4 separate regions of the Homo sapiens genome follow, and regions 2, 3 and 4 are each linked to region 1. Evidence: promoter capture Hi-C in human tissues and cell types (Jung and others, 2019). All regions are on one chromosome and are shown on one strand. Each heading gives the region's core, a stretch centred on a gene start or on the middle of the fragment in contact. The rest is flanking DNA. Distances are from core to core; before and after follow the strand shown. Region 1 holds the start of PLK5 (polo like kinase 5 (inactive)). Region 2 has its middle 20 kb from the start of ONECUT3. Region 3 holds the start of EFNA2 (ephrin A2). Region 4 has its middle 46 kb from the start of TCF3.

Region 1 (2,974 bases), core at 1-2,500:
TGTAGCAGCGGCTGAAGGCGCCCTGTGGGGAGGGGTCAGCAGATCAGTGGGCAGGTGTGCACGGGTGTGCAAGCTGGCAGCGCGTACAGAGGCACAGGGCAGCCAGGGACGCAGGCGCGTCCAGGTCTCTCCACACACACACCGGGGAAAAAACAACACACAGCTCCCACCCTCCCGCCTGGACACACAAGACATGATGCACACAAGAAGGCACAGAGACACAGACACAGACACATCCACGCCTGGTGCATAGAGGCCACGGACCAGAAGACAGCACCGGATGCACAACACCACGCCTGAATACGACACACAAACACGCAACGCCCAGACACAGAGTCACCATGCATGGACACACAACACAACACCCAGATACACAACGCAGCAACACACAAACACATGAATATACAATGTCTGGACACACAGTCACCACGTGTGGACACACAACACAATACCCAGACACAGCACAGGAACACACAAACACATGAACACACAACACCTGGACACACAGTACAACACATGGACAAAGACACAGATACAAACACATGAACACACAACTCCTAGACACACCACATATGAACACACAAACACACAAGCACACCACATGAACACACAACACCCAGACACACAACACAATGACTGGACACACAAAGGCATGACGCACAAACAACAGGTGAACAAGCAACACAACACCCAGACACACACACACACACACACACACACACACACGAACACCGCACAGCACCCAGACACTTGGAAGCAGCGGGCACAGACGCGGCACACTCAGACCCTCGCCAGGCTCGCACACACACCCAGGGGCAACACAGCGTCGCATCCCGAGGCCGAGCCGCACGCCCACACCCCGGACACGCAACCCACGGACACGACGCACAGCGCGCTCAACACGGTTCCCGCCATGCGAAACCCCGCACGGGAGGCCCCGCGGCTCCGGACGCGCGCCCGCTCCAGACCCCGCGCTCGCAGGGACGCGCCGCGTAGACCGCGCAGGATCGCCCGCGCGCCCCGGGACCCCAGCCCAGCCCGGTCCGGCCCCGTCGCGGACTCGGGGCGCGGGCCTCCCACCTTGCCGATCAGCTTCCCGCGCCTGTACACGCGGCCCGAGCCCGGGTCTCGCAGGAAGGCGGCGACCAGGGGGCGACTCCTGCGCCGCCGCCGCGGCCGGGGCTCCATCGCGCGGACTCTGGCGCAGCCGGGCCGAGACCACCGCGCTGCGGCCGCTCCGGGGCCGCTCTGAGGGCGCAGGAGCCGCCGGGGAGCGTTTTATTGGCCGCGGGGGCGGGGAGGGGGCGGAGCCCGGGCGCAGGTCCAGCCCGGGGAGGGGCGGGAGGTGCCCGGCCGTGGAGTGGGGGGCGCGTGAGCGGCGGGGACGCCGCGGCTGGGGAAGTTCCACGGACCAGAGCGCGCCCGAGTCCCGCACGCCAACCGGGCGCCAGGGGCCGCGCTCAGCCCGCGAGCTCCTCCGACCCTGCACACCCGGGCTGGCTGGGAACCGCTGATACGCCCGCTTTACCGAGCGGGAAACTGAGGCTCTCTCGCGCGTGGGGGGTTGGGGGCTTCCGGGGGCTTCTCCCCCACAGTGCGCTTGAGGTATGAGCCTCGACGTTCTGAATGTGTGCCATTTCGGGTCCTCCCTGCTGGCGGGTCCCTGGGGCCCACATGAAAACCTGGGGCTTGATGGCCCTGGGCACTGGGGAGCCACAGCAGAATTCGGAGCGGCAGAGAAGCCCAGCGTTTGTGATGCTGGGGCTGGTGGGGAGGGCGGTGAGGCCTGGGACAGGGACCCAGGAGGCAGGACCGGGGCTTGGGGACGCATGGGCTGGGGTCCTACAGTGTAGTGGATGTCCCATATGAGGGAGCTTCAGCCCGGAGAAGGGATGGGCTGTGTGGAGCAGCAGGTGGACCCTGGCTGGGGTTTGCACGGACAGCCAGGTGGGGACGTCCTTGAAATGGCGACCTCAGAGAGCATCAGAAACCTCAGAGAACTCAGAGAACAGCTGGGTGGGAAGACAGTGGGGGGCTTGAGACTCCCCCGGAATCGTGGGGGTGGTTGCTCCAAGCCCTGCCCCAGACTCAGGTGCACCCCTTTCCTGGTGAGGTCTTCCCTCACCCTTCCACCCAGCCTGGGACACAAAAACGGGCCTTGTCCCCATTGTACAGGCAAGACATTGAGACCCAGGGACGCAAAGTCGCTCAGTCAGCCCAGGAAAGGGCAGCGCTGGGTTTGAATCCCGGCAGCCGCCCCTGGACGCCTGCGGTATTAATCCCCAAATGTTACATAACACCAGGAATGGGGAGGGGTTACCAGGCTCCGTGGGGCTGGAATTTTCCAGGGACCAGATTTCGGAATCTGGCCCGGCCACACCACTAGGGACAGGAAACACCTTCTGAGCCGTCACGTGTCCACCTGGTGTCACGAATGGGGCCCCCGTGCATTGGACGGGGCTGAGCTCGGGCACCTTTGCGGGGTTTCTGGTCCCAGGGCCAGGGCGGAAGATTCCTGGCCAGCCTGGGGCCACCGGGTTGCAGCTGGGGAGCCCAAGTCCCCTGCTGATGAGAATCAGGTGAGGTGGCTGCAAGGTGGGCTGCTCGGGGCCCGAGTGTCTGAGCTGTCACACGACTGTCACCCTGGAATCCTCCAGGGGCAGAAAGCCAGTTCCTTGCTTTTTTTTTTGTTTGTTTGTTTTTTTGAAAGAGAGTCTTGCTCTGTCACCCGGGCTGGAGTGCCGTGGTGTGATCTTGGCTCACTGCAACCTCCATCTCCCGAGTTCAAGCAATTCTCCTGCCTCAGCCTCCCAAGTAGCTGGGACTACAGGTATGCACCACCACACCCAGCTGATGTATTTATTTATTTGTATTTTTAGTAGAGACGGGTTTCACCATGTTGGTCAGGCTGGTCTCAAACTCCTGACCTCAAATGACCCGCCTGCCTCGGCCTCCCAAAATGCTGGGATGACAG
Region 2 (3,059 bases), core at 80-2,579, 210 kb before region 1:
GGAACCTGGAAATGGTTTTCCTTCCACCACCGCCGCCCCCACCTTGAATCTCAGCCCAGCTGAACTTGAAAGGCTGAGCGGGCGAGGGTGGGGGGAGCGTCTCATCCGCCTGGAGGGGAGAAAACCGAGCTCATTAGGGGAGGGGATCAAACGCGAAGCTCCGGGCTGGGTGCGGGAGGAGGCGCTGACAAGAGGGAATAGTTTATCGAGGCGGCTCGCTCTCTTCCAAGGCCAGCACCTCGTCAGATATCGAGCATGCTTGTCGATGCTGCCAACCGTAAGTGGAGGAAAAAAATCGCTTAATGGGCTGCTCCAGGCTCACTCAGGTGGGTGGGTGCCCGGCTGGCCGAGAAAGGACGGTGATACTGGGTCCTTAAAAGGGCCTCCGCCATCCTCCCCCACTCTGCGGGGCTCGAGGGGGCTCGAGGCATCTGCTAATAACCCTTCGGCGCTCGTCCCATCTCCCGGGTTCCTACTGCCTGCGTGTGGCTGGGGGTTGTGGGGGGGTCTCCACTTATTTTAATTTTACAAGCCGAGCCCTAGATGTGGAATCGCTCCACTGAGCTTTTCCTGCACCCGCTGATGCCAGGCCTGGAGCTGGCCATGGAAGGCCCTGTGGTGATGGGAGAGGCTCACAGTGTGAGGGTGGTGGCTGACTTTATTTTTTTAGAGACAGGGTCTTGCTCTGTTACCCAGGCTGGAGTGCAGTGGTGCAATCATAGCTTACTGCAGCCTCGAACTCCTGGGCTCAAGCCATCCTCCCCACTCAGCTCCTGAGTAGCTGGGACTACAGGCTTGCACCGCCATGCTCAGCGAATTTTATATTGCCCGGGCTGGTCTTGAACTCCTGGCCTCAAGTGGTCCTCCACCTTGACCTCCCAAAGTGCTGGGATTACAGGCATGAGCCACTGTGCCCGGCCAGTGGCAGACTTTAAACCATGGCTGACAGCGGGTCTGGGAGCCTGAGTTGAGAAGGGCACCGTTGCCCCGAAAGGCGTAGGAGGTGCAGGAGTTCATTCAGTGAAGAGAAGTAGGAAAAGCAGGCAAAGGCTTGGGGGTTAGGAGAGCATTGAGGTGAGGAGGGGCTGGGTCGGCAGCGTCTGTGGGCCTGGCGGGGAGGTGTCATCATTCCCTTAAGAGTCAGGGGCAGCCAGGCAAGGGGTAGGACTGCATTGTTTTTTTATTTGTTTTGTTTTTTTTGTTTTTTGAGGCAGGGTCTCACTCTGTTGTCCAGGGTGGAGTGTAGTGGTGGAGGGCACCTGTAATCCCAGCTACTAGGGAGGCTGAGACAGGAGAATTGGCTCACTGCAGCCTCGACCTCCTGGGTTCAAGAGATCCTCCTGCCTCGGCCTCCCGAGTAGCTGGGACTACAGGTGCCCTCCACCATGTCCAGCCTGGAGTGGATTTTTTTTTTTTTTTGAGACGGAGTTTCACTGTTGTTACCCAGGCTGGAGTGCAAATGACACGATCTCAGCTCACAGCAACCTCCGCCTCCCAGGTTCAAGCGATTCTCCTGCCTCAGCCTCCTGAGTAGCTGAGATTACAGGCATGAGCCAGCATGCCTGGCTAATTTTGTATTTTTAGTAGAGACGGGGTTTCTCCATGTTGGTCAGGCTGGTCTCGAACTCCTGATCTTAGGTGATCCACCCACCTCGGCCTCCCAAAGTGCTGGGATTACAGGCGTGAGCCACCGTGCCCGGCGGTTATGCTTGTCGATGCTGCCTGTTTTCACTTTATAGAAGAACTGGGCTCTGTAGACACAAGCCACTTTTTCCTACCTGCTCAGAGCTGGTGAGTTTCGGGAACTGGAGGCCAGGAGCAGGGATCACGGGAGAAAAGCCCTGGGTCCCTGGGGAAGTCAGATCAGAGCCATCTGCAGAGGAGCTGGGCTGTGGGAGGGGCGTCCCCTGTCCTGCGAACCTCAGAAAAGCTGAACTACAAAATAGGTATCTGTAATTTTTGTCACATTTGCAATCTGTTTTTGAGCAAGTAATATACATATATACGTGGGAGAAACAAAACTTACATGGAAACAGCAAAAAAATAAATGCCCACCTCAACCCTTCCCGTGCCACCCTGTGCCCTTGGACGTGGAAGCCTTCATTATCTGTCCTAGGGCCTCATGATACACACCATGAAGAGTATCCGTGGCCGGGCACGGTGGCTCACGCCTGTAATCCTTGCACTTTGGGAGGGCCTGGCAGGTGGATCATCTGAGGTCAGGAGTTCAAGACCAGCCTCGCCAACACGGTGAAACCCCATCTCTACTAAAAATACAAAAATTAGCCGGGCGTGGTGGTGGACACCTGTAATCCCAGCTACTCGGGAGGCTGAGACAGGAGAATCGCTTGAACCCAGAAGGCGGAGGTTACAGTGAGCCGAGATCGCGCCACTGCACTCCAGCCTGGGTGACAGAGCAAGACTCTGTCTCAAGGGGAAAAAAAAAAAAAAGTATCTGTATATACTTAGAGACATACTCTGACTTAATGTGACCAGTCTCTACTCACTGTTCAGCATGTAGCTTTTTTTTTTGTTTTTTTTTAAAGACAAATGTCCCTCTGTCACCCAGGCTGGAGTGCAGTGGTGCAATCTCGGCTCACTGCAACCTCCGCCTCTGGGGTTCAAGCGATTCTCCTGCCTCAGACTCCCGAGTAGCTGGGATTACAGGCGCCCGCCACCACGCCCGGCTAATTTTTATATTTTTAGTAGAGACGGGCTTTCACCTTGTTGGCCAGGCTGGTCTGGAGCTCCTGGCCTCAGGTGATCCTCCCACCTTGGCCACCGAAAGTGCTGGGATCACAGGTGTGAGCCACCGCGCCCAGCTTCGGTGGGTAGTTTTTCATCCCTCCCCACTCCTACCCTCCTTTCCATATTTTCCAAGGCTGGACATGCCATTCCTCCAGCACTGAATGATCCTCCTCTGTCTGAATACACCACAGCCCACTGATACGTTCACCTGCTCAAGGGAAGCTTGGTTGCTTCCTGATTTGGCCAGCTATGAATAAAGCTGCCATAAGCTTTCGTGTGCAGGGTTTTGTGTGGACACAAGTTGCCAACTC
Region 3 (3,060 bases), core at 455-2,954, 240 kb after region 1:
GCGGAACACGGGCCGCCCTTGTCCCCGAGCCCGCCTCAAAGAGACCCCTTCATGCAACTTTCCTCCCGGGGACCGAGGACAGCAGGAGACAGAGGGGACAAGGAGGGGTGGCGGGCTCCAGAGGGCGGCTCGGTCGGCACAGGAAGCGGCTGGAAAACGGAGAGAAAGTGACCAGTAGCAGAAGAGTGGGGGGGGGCCGCCTCAGCCCCCGATGTGCAGCTCCGTGTGCCTTAGGAAGACGGTGACACCCTGAGTGCTGGGGCTGACTCCCTCCCGAGCCCCAGGACCCCCAAAGCCCCGGCTCCCACGGGACCCCCAGGGAAGCTGCAGCCTGCTCCTGTCTTGGAGACCCTGGGATGGTTCAGAGGGTTCTACCCACGTCCAGGCCATGGCCAGGCCCCGGCAAACTTTTTTTGCTCTGACCAACGGGGGCTTCTCCTGTCCCCCACGTTGTGCCTGGCCCGGACCTGGTTCAAAACAAGGGGGCCTGCAGCAGGCGGGTGCGGCATCTCGGCCGGGCGTGGCAGGCAGGGCACTGGGCCACCTGGGTCCTGCCCCCAAGTCCCCCCCTTGCATGACCTTGAGCCAGCTCCTCATCCCCTCTGCACCTCAGTTTCCTGGTCAGCGCCCAGAGGACAAGAGAGGACTCCATCCCACTGCCCCTCCCGGGGCTGACCCCCAGCTCCCCGGCCCCTCAGTCTCCTTTCAAAGCTGGGCCCTTGGCCCCCTGGAGTGAAGCAGATGCTGGGTCCTGAGGGAGGGACACTCCAACTTCCCCAAGTTCATCTGGGGACCTGCGGGCAGGACGAACCCAGAGATCCCTCGAGGGCCACAGTCCCCCACCTCCGGTGCCAAGGTCCCCGGGGATCCCCACCAAATGCGAAACCGAGGGGGCTCCCCAGAGAAGCGGGTGGATCAGGGGTCCCCCCAAGTCCAGGCAGGCAACTCAGGGGCTACCCGGCATCGGAGGGTACCAGAGGGGTTCCCCAAACTCCAGGAGACGTCGGCGCTCTGGGGGATGTGGGGCGCGAGTCCCCACAGTCCGTAGGGCAATGGGGCGCCCCGGGGAAGGCAGGCGCGAAAAGGGCGAGTCCCCCAAACTCCGGGGGGCCGGAGCTCCCTGGGGGGCTCCCGCGGGAACCGGGCGCCCGCATCCCGGCGGCGGCGCGCGCGTGGGGGGCGCCCGGAGCTCCGGGGGCGCGAGGCCGGGCGCGGCTTGGGGGGCGTTGGGGGGTCCCCGGGCGCCCCCCGCGCGCGGCCGCGCTCACCTGGGGTTGCTGCGGTTCCAGTAGACGGCGTAGCGGTCCGAGTTGGCGCGGGCGGCGTCCTCGGCGCGCGCGAAGGGCGGCGGCGGCAGCGGTAACAGCAGGAGCAGCAGCGGGAGCAGCGGGCGCTGCGCGGGCGCCATGGCCCCGGTCCGGCCGCCGCGCTCGCTCTCCCGGCCGCCGCCTGCCAGCCTTCTCCGCCTCCTCCGCCGCCGCCGCCGCCGCCGAGCGGGCGGGCGGAGGGCGGGCGGGAGGAGGGCGCGGCGGCGCTTGGAGATCCCGGGCCGCCCCCGCCTCCGCGCGCGCGACCTCGGGCGCCGAGAAGTCAGGCGGCGGCGGGGCGGGGCGCCGGGGTCGCCCCGGGCGCAGGACCCGGCCGCGCGGACTGTCGGAGCGCGGGCCGCCGCCGCCGCACCCGCCGGGGAGGGGCCCGGGCTCCGGCCTTTGTCCCGCCCGAGCGTCGGGAGGGCCGCGGGCGCCCCCTCCCGCCGTGCCCCGGCCGCGCGGGGACTGGGCGGGGGTCTCCAGCCTGCGCCCGCCCCCTGCCCCGGCCCACCCCGTCTCAGGCTCGTCCCCCGGGGCCTGCCCCCAGCGACCCCGATTCTGCGCGCCCCCCGCCGGCATCCGCGTGGCCCGGCCTGGGGTCTCCGAGGGGCGGGGGCGCACCCTGCCTCCCGCGCCCCCACGCGCTCCACCCGGCCCGGCCCTGGGTCCCGGGCCTCTCACCTGCCCGGTTCCAGCGCTATCCGCAGCCTCACCAACCCCGACGCACGCGTCCCAAATCGGGCTCGGCCAACTCCAGTCTCCCTGCGGGGGCCGGGGCAGAGTTTCAGAGGGGCGCTGGCCAAAGTCCAAAGCTGCTCGGGCTGCGACCTCCCTGGGGCCCTCCTGGGAGTCGCCTCTCCGGACCCACGCTGTTCCCTGGGGATGGAGTAAGTCCCTACACCTCAGCCCTAAGGGTGCCGGGAGCATAGTAGGTGGACCGATGTGGAGTGTGAGCAGCTGGGGATGGGATCCAAGAAGCCCAGAGTGAAGCCCCGGCCGACAGCAAATCAGTCTCCACGCACGAATCCTGCAGGCAGGGGAGGGCCGCTGCCCGGGGGCACAGCTTGTGCAAAGACCCGGGGTCTGATCTGTTCAGGGAACGCCGAGTGATTTCTCCTCCTGGTAGGCTGACACAGGTGGGGAACTGGGGGCCTGGCCTCTGCTTTGTCTTTTTTCCAATCTATAGAGACAGTGTCTGGCCATGTTGGCCACGCTGGTCTTGAACTCCTGGGCTCAGGCGATCTTCCCACCTGGGCTTCCCAAAGTGCTAGGATTACAGGCGTGAGCCACTGCACCTGGCCTGCCCTCTGTTTTTGCCCTTATTCATGCCACAGCCTCCCTCACCAGACTCTGAGCTTGTGGAGGGTAGGCTGTCATCAAACGCTGGCTGGACTTTGCTGGCGATGCCCAGATCGTGTTGTACGTCTCTGAATTAGTGTCATTCACCAGGCCCAGTGCAGGAGAGGGAACTGCAGGGCAAGCACCAACAGCCCTTGGACCCGAAGGTCCCTGTGTGAGGCATTACCCAAACTCCTGGCAGGGACCGTGAACCCAGAGATGGGCAAGCTAACCTGTGCCCCAGCAAGGTGGGGTGGGGACCGGACCCACCACCGTCCCACAGCTCTGAGACGTGGTGGGCTCTGTCCTGTGTCTCCTGCGTGCCCTCCTCCCCCGATTCCCCAGCGGGCCACGCGGGCCACACCACCTGACCTTTGTTCAGGCTGGGTCCTGCTGGGAAGTCCTTCCACTT
Region 4 (2,850 bases), core at 112-2,611, 170 kb before region 1:
GAAGGCAAGGACCAAAGTCCAGGCCAGCTCCTGTCCCCCATCTCCACATAGGGGTCGGTATGGGGGTGGGAAGTGACCGGGACCAGCAACCCCCCGGCTCTGTGAGGCTCAGGCGGAGAGCAGGACCCCACCAGCTTCCACGTGCTGGTGCCTTCTGAGCCCCCCTCCGTGTATGCATCCTTGGGGGCTCACAAGGGCAGGAACCCCCAGACCTGCCACAGACCAGGGCACTGAGGCTGGAGCAGAGCCCCTGCCTGGGCTCGCCTGTGGCCCCCCAAGACCCCCAGGCCTTGCTCTCCAGGGTCATGGGTGCCAAGGGCCACCAGGCTCTCTACGTTTAGAGCAGCCAAATCTCCAAACCCAGGGTGCCCCTAAGCCCCGCCTGGGGTCTTCCCCACCTCCTGGTGAAGGGTCAGGGCCCCACCCTCCCCTCCCCAGCGGCCGGGGCCAGGCTGAGCATACCCTGGGCTCTGGTTCATTCCGGCATGAGGCCCCATGCCAGGCACATGGCACAGCCCACGCCCCCAGCCCCACTGTCAGGGCCGCCCCGCCCCGGCTCTGTAGAAGGCAGAGCCCCTTGCAGTTCGAAGGAAATTCAAGTCCTGACTCCGAGACAGGCCGGATCGGCCGGGAGGTGACACGGTGATGCTGAGACTCCCTCGGTGGGTGCCACTTGGAGAGGGGGCAACACCCGGACCCCGCCCAGCAAGCCGGCCCCAGGAGGGTGGGAGCGCCAGGGCCTCCCTCCCAGCGGGGGTTCTCACCCCCGAGACAGCCCAGGGTCACAGGACTGGGCTCCCAGCCCCCCATAAAGGCTTCTTAAACAGCCTGCTTGGCCAACTGTCATCTCCATTAATGCATAAAAATCATTAGGCACCGGTCCCGAGACCCCGATCGTAAACCAGCAGGTCCCCGGGGCCCTCACCCGGGCGGCAAATGGCATCCAGGGGAGGCTCCCAGGCCCCCGCGGCGCCCGCCCCGCCCGGCCCTCCACTCGGAGCCTCTTCCGATCGATGTTATGAAGCAGCTTGGGGTTCGTCAATGCTCCCGCTCCCGCTTTATGCCCCTGTTTAAAAATTCTTAATTAAGCAGGTTTTTTCTGTTTACACTTGAACTAATTACACTTTTAAAACCAACAATAAAACATTAGGCCCAGGCTATTAAGAGCTTCGGTGCAGGCCTGCGGCGCGGCCCATGGGGCAATTCAGGAACTGGGTCCTTCCATGGGAGATAGGAGTGCCGGGCGGCGGGCGGGTGCCAGGCGTCCCTTAAGAGGGTCCCCGGGCCTTATCCGCCTTCCTGGAGGGTGGGGAGGGGACAGCAGGCGCCCTGATGAGCCGCGCTTCCGCCCCCCCGGCGGCCGATGGACCTATTGATCGCATGGCCTTATCCACGGTGCATCTTCCGGGGCATCCTCGGAAGACGTGGTCCGTGCCAGGGAGGGCTGAGGGCCAGCCAGAGGGAGAACCGGAGGGCCAGGAGGGTCTGAGGCGGAAGATTTGGGTGCCGGGTCAGCAGATGGTGACTCTGGCCCCTGGACAGTGTCCTGAAGGGCGTTCAGTGGCCTGGCCCCAGAGGTGGGAGCATATTTGGGACTGGGGCGACATGTGCAGGCCCAGGGGGCACCATGGGGTTCCCAACAAAGCCCCCCATCCCTTGATGGGCATCTGAAGCTCTGTCTGAGCTGGACCAAAGCCGGCCTCCCGTCCCACTGCAGAGGCACCTGGGCCGGGTCACTGGTGGTGACTTCAAATGCTCCACGTGCACCACCAGCCGGGGCTCATGGGCTCCTTGGCGTGGAATGTCCTCCACCAACTTCCTTCTCTTCTTATTTCTTGAGACAGGGTCTCGCTCTGTCACCCAGGCTGGAGTGCGGTGGCGCAATCATAGCTGACTGCAGCCTCAACCTCCTGGACTCAAACGATCCTCCCACCTCAGCCTCCAAAGTAGTTGGGACTACAGGTGTGCATCACCACACTCGGCTAATTTTTGAATTTTTTTGTTTGCTTTGTTTTGTTTTTTGAGACGGAGTTTCACTCTTGTTGCCCAGGCTGGAGTGCAATGACACGATCTCGGCTCACTGCAACCTCCATCTGCTGGGTGGAAGCGATTCTCTTGCTTCAGCCTCCCAAGCAGCTGAGATTACAGGCATGAGCTATCAGGCCCAGCTAATTTTGTATCTTTAGTAGAGACAAGGTTTTACCATGTTGGTCAGGCTGGTCTTGAACTCCTGACCTCAGGTGATCCACCAACCTCAACCTCCCAAAGTGCTGGGATTACCGGCATGAGCACCGTGCCGGCCTGAATTTTTGAAATTTTTGTATAAGTTGGCGGGGGTGGGGGGTGGTCTCACTATGTTGCCCAGGCTGATCTCGAACTCCTGAGTTCAAGCAATCCTCGCCTCGGCCTCCCAAAGTGCTGGGATTACAGGCATGAGCCACTGTGTCCGGCCAACCTCCACCAATTTAGGCCTTAGCTGCTTCCGCCCATCCCTCAGTCCAGCTTGGTGGCCGCCCTACAGAGCTTCCCGAAGCTGATGTGAGCCTCTTGAGCTCCTCAGACTCTAAGAATTTTTGAGGCATGGGGCCTTCTAGGCTGTATCCGCAAGTTGCTGTGAGCACTGATACCTCGGGGGCTGCTCTGAAGACAGCCACAGGGTCCCCCAGGGTCCACTGGGGCCTTGGTCTGTCCTCTCTGCATGACCCCATCTCACCCACGGCCCCACCATCCATCCCATCTCCCAGGAGAGTTGCTGCCCTCCTTCGCACCCCACCCCGATGGTTACCTTCTCCAGCATCCTCGAGTCTCACCCAAGTCTCCCTGGAATACGCCCGCTCTGCCATGTTCCAG

The links. The method cuts DNA at HindIII sites, captures the fragments that hold promoters and counts their contacts. A contact is called where the count stands out against the background at its distance.
Region 2: a contact is called between a fragment that was not itself captured here and the fragment with the promoter of PLK5 in region 1, in 2 of the 25 tissues and cell types used here (lymphoblastoid cells and psoas muscle).
Region 3: a contact is called between the fragment with the promoter of EFNA2 here and the fragment with the promoter of PLK5 in region 1, in 5 of the 25 tissues and cell types used here (dorsolateral prefrontal cortex, liver, lymphoblastoid cells and 2 more).
Region 4: a contact is called between a fragment that was not itself captured here and the fragment with the promoter of PLK5 in region 1, in 1 of the 25 tissues and cell types used here (lymphoblastoid cells).

Annotation. Positions count from the first base shown.
Region 1 is chr19:1,522,353-1,525,326 of GRCh38, reverse strand. It overlaps PLK5 (polo like kinase 5 (inactive)), which reads right to left and starts at 1,250. Exons shown (of 14, transcript NM_001243079.2): 1 at 1,081-1,250; 2 at 1-22. LOC107985337 (a long non-coding RNA gene) reads right to left here. Exons shown (of 3, transcript XR_001753835.2): 3 at 2,850-2,974. The HindIII fragment of the contact is 15,366 bases long and covers 1-2,974 here.
Region 2 is chr19:1,731,648-1,734,706 of GRCh38, reverse strand. No RefSeq gene overlaps it. Among named protein-coding and RNA genes, the nearest start is that of ONECUT3, 20 kb to the left of the region's middle. The HindIII fragment of the contact is 7,385 bases long and covers 1-3,059 here.
Region 3 is chr19:1,284,517-1,287,576 of GRCh38, reverse strand. It overlaps EFNA2 (ephrin A2), which reads right to left and starts at 1,704. Exons shown (of 4, transcript NM_001405.4): 1 at 1,269-1,704. The coding sequence starts at 1,408. RefSeq lists enhancers at 1,619-2,119, 2,120-2,620. The HindIII fragment of the contact is 32,397 bases long and covers 1-3,060 here.
Region 4 is chr19:1,697,282-1,700,131 of GRCh38, reverse strand. No RefSeq gene overlaps it. Among named protein-coding and RNA genes, the nearest start is that of TCF3, 46 kb to the right of the region's middle. The HindIII fragment of the contact is 4,391 bases long and covers 1-2,850 here.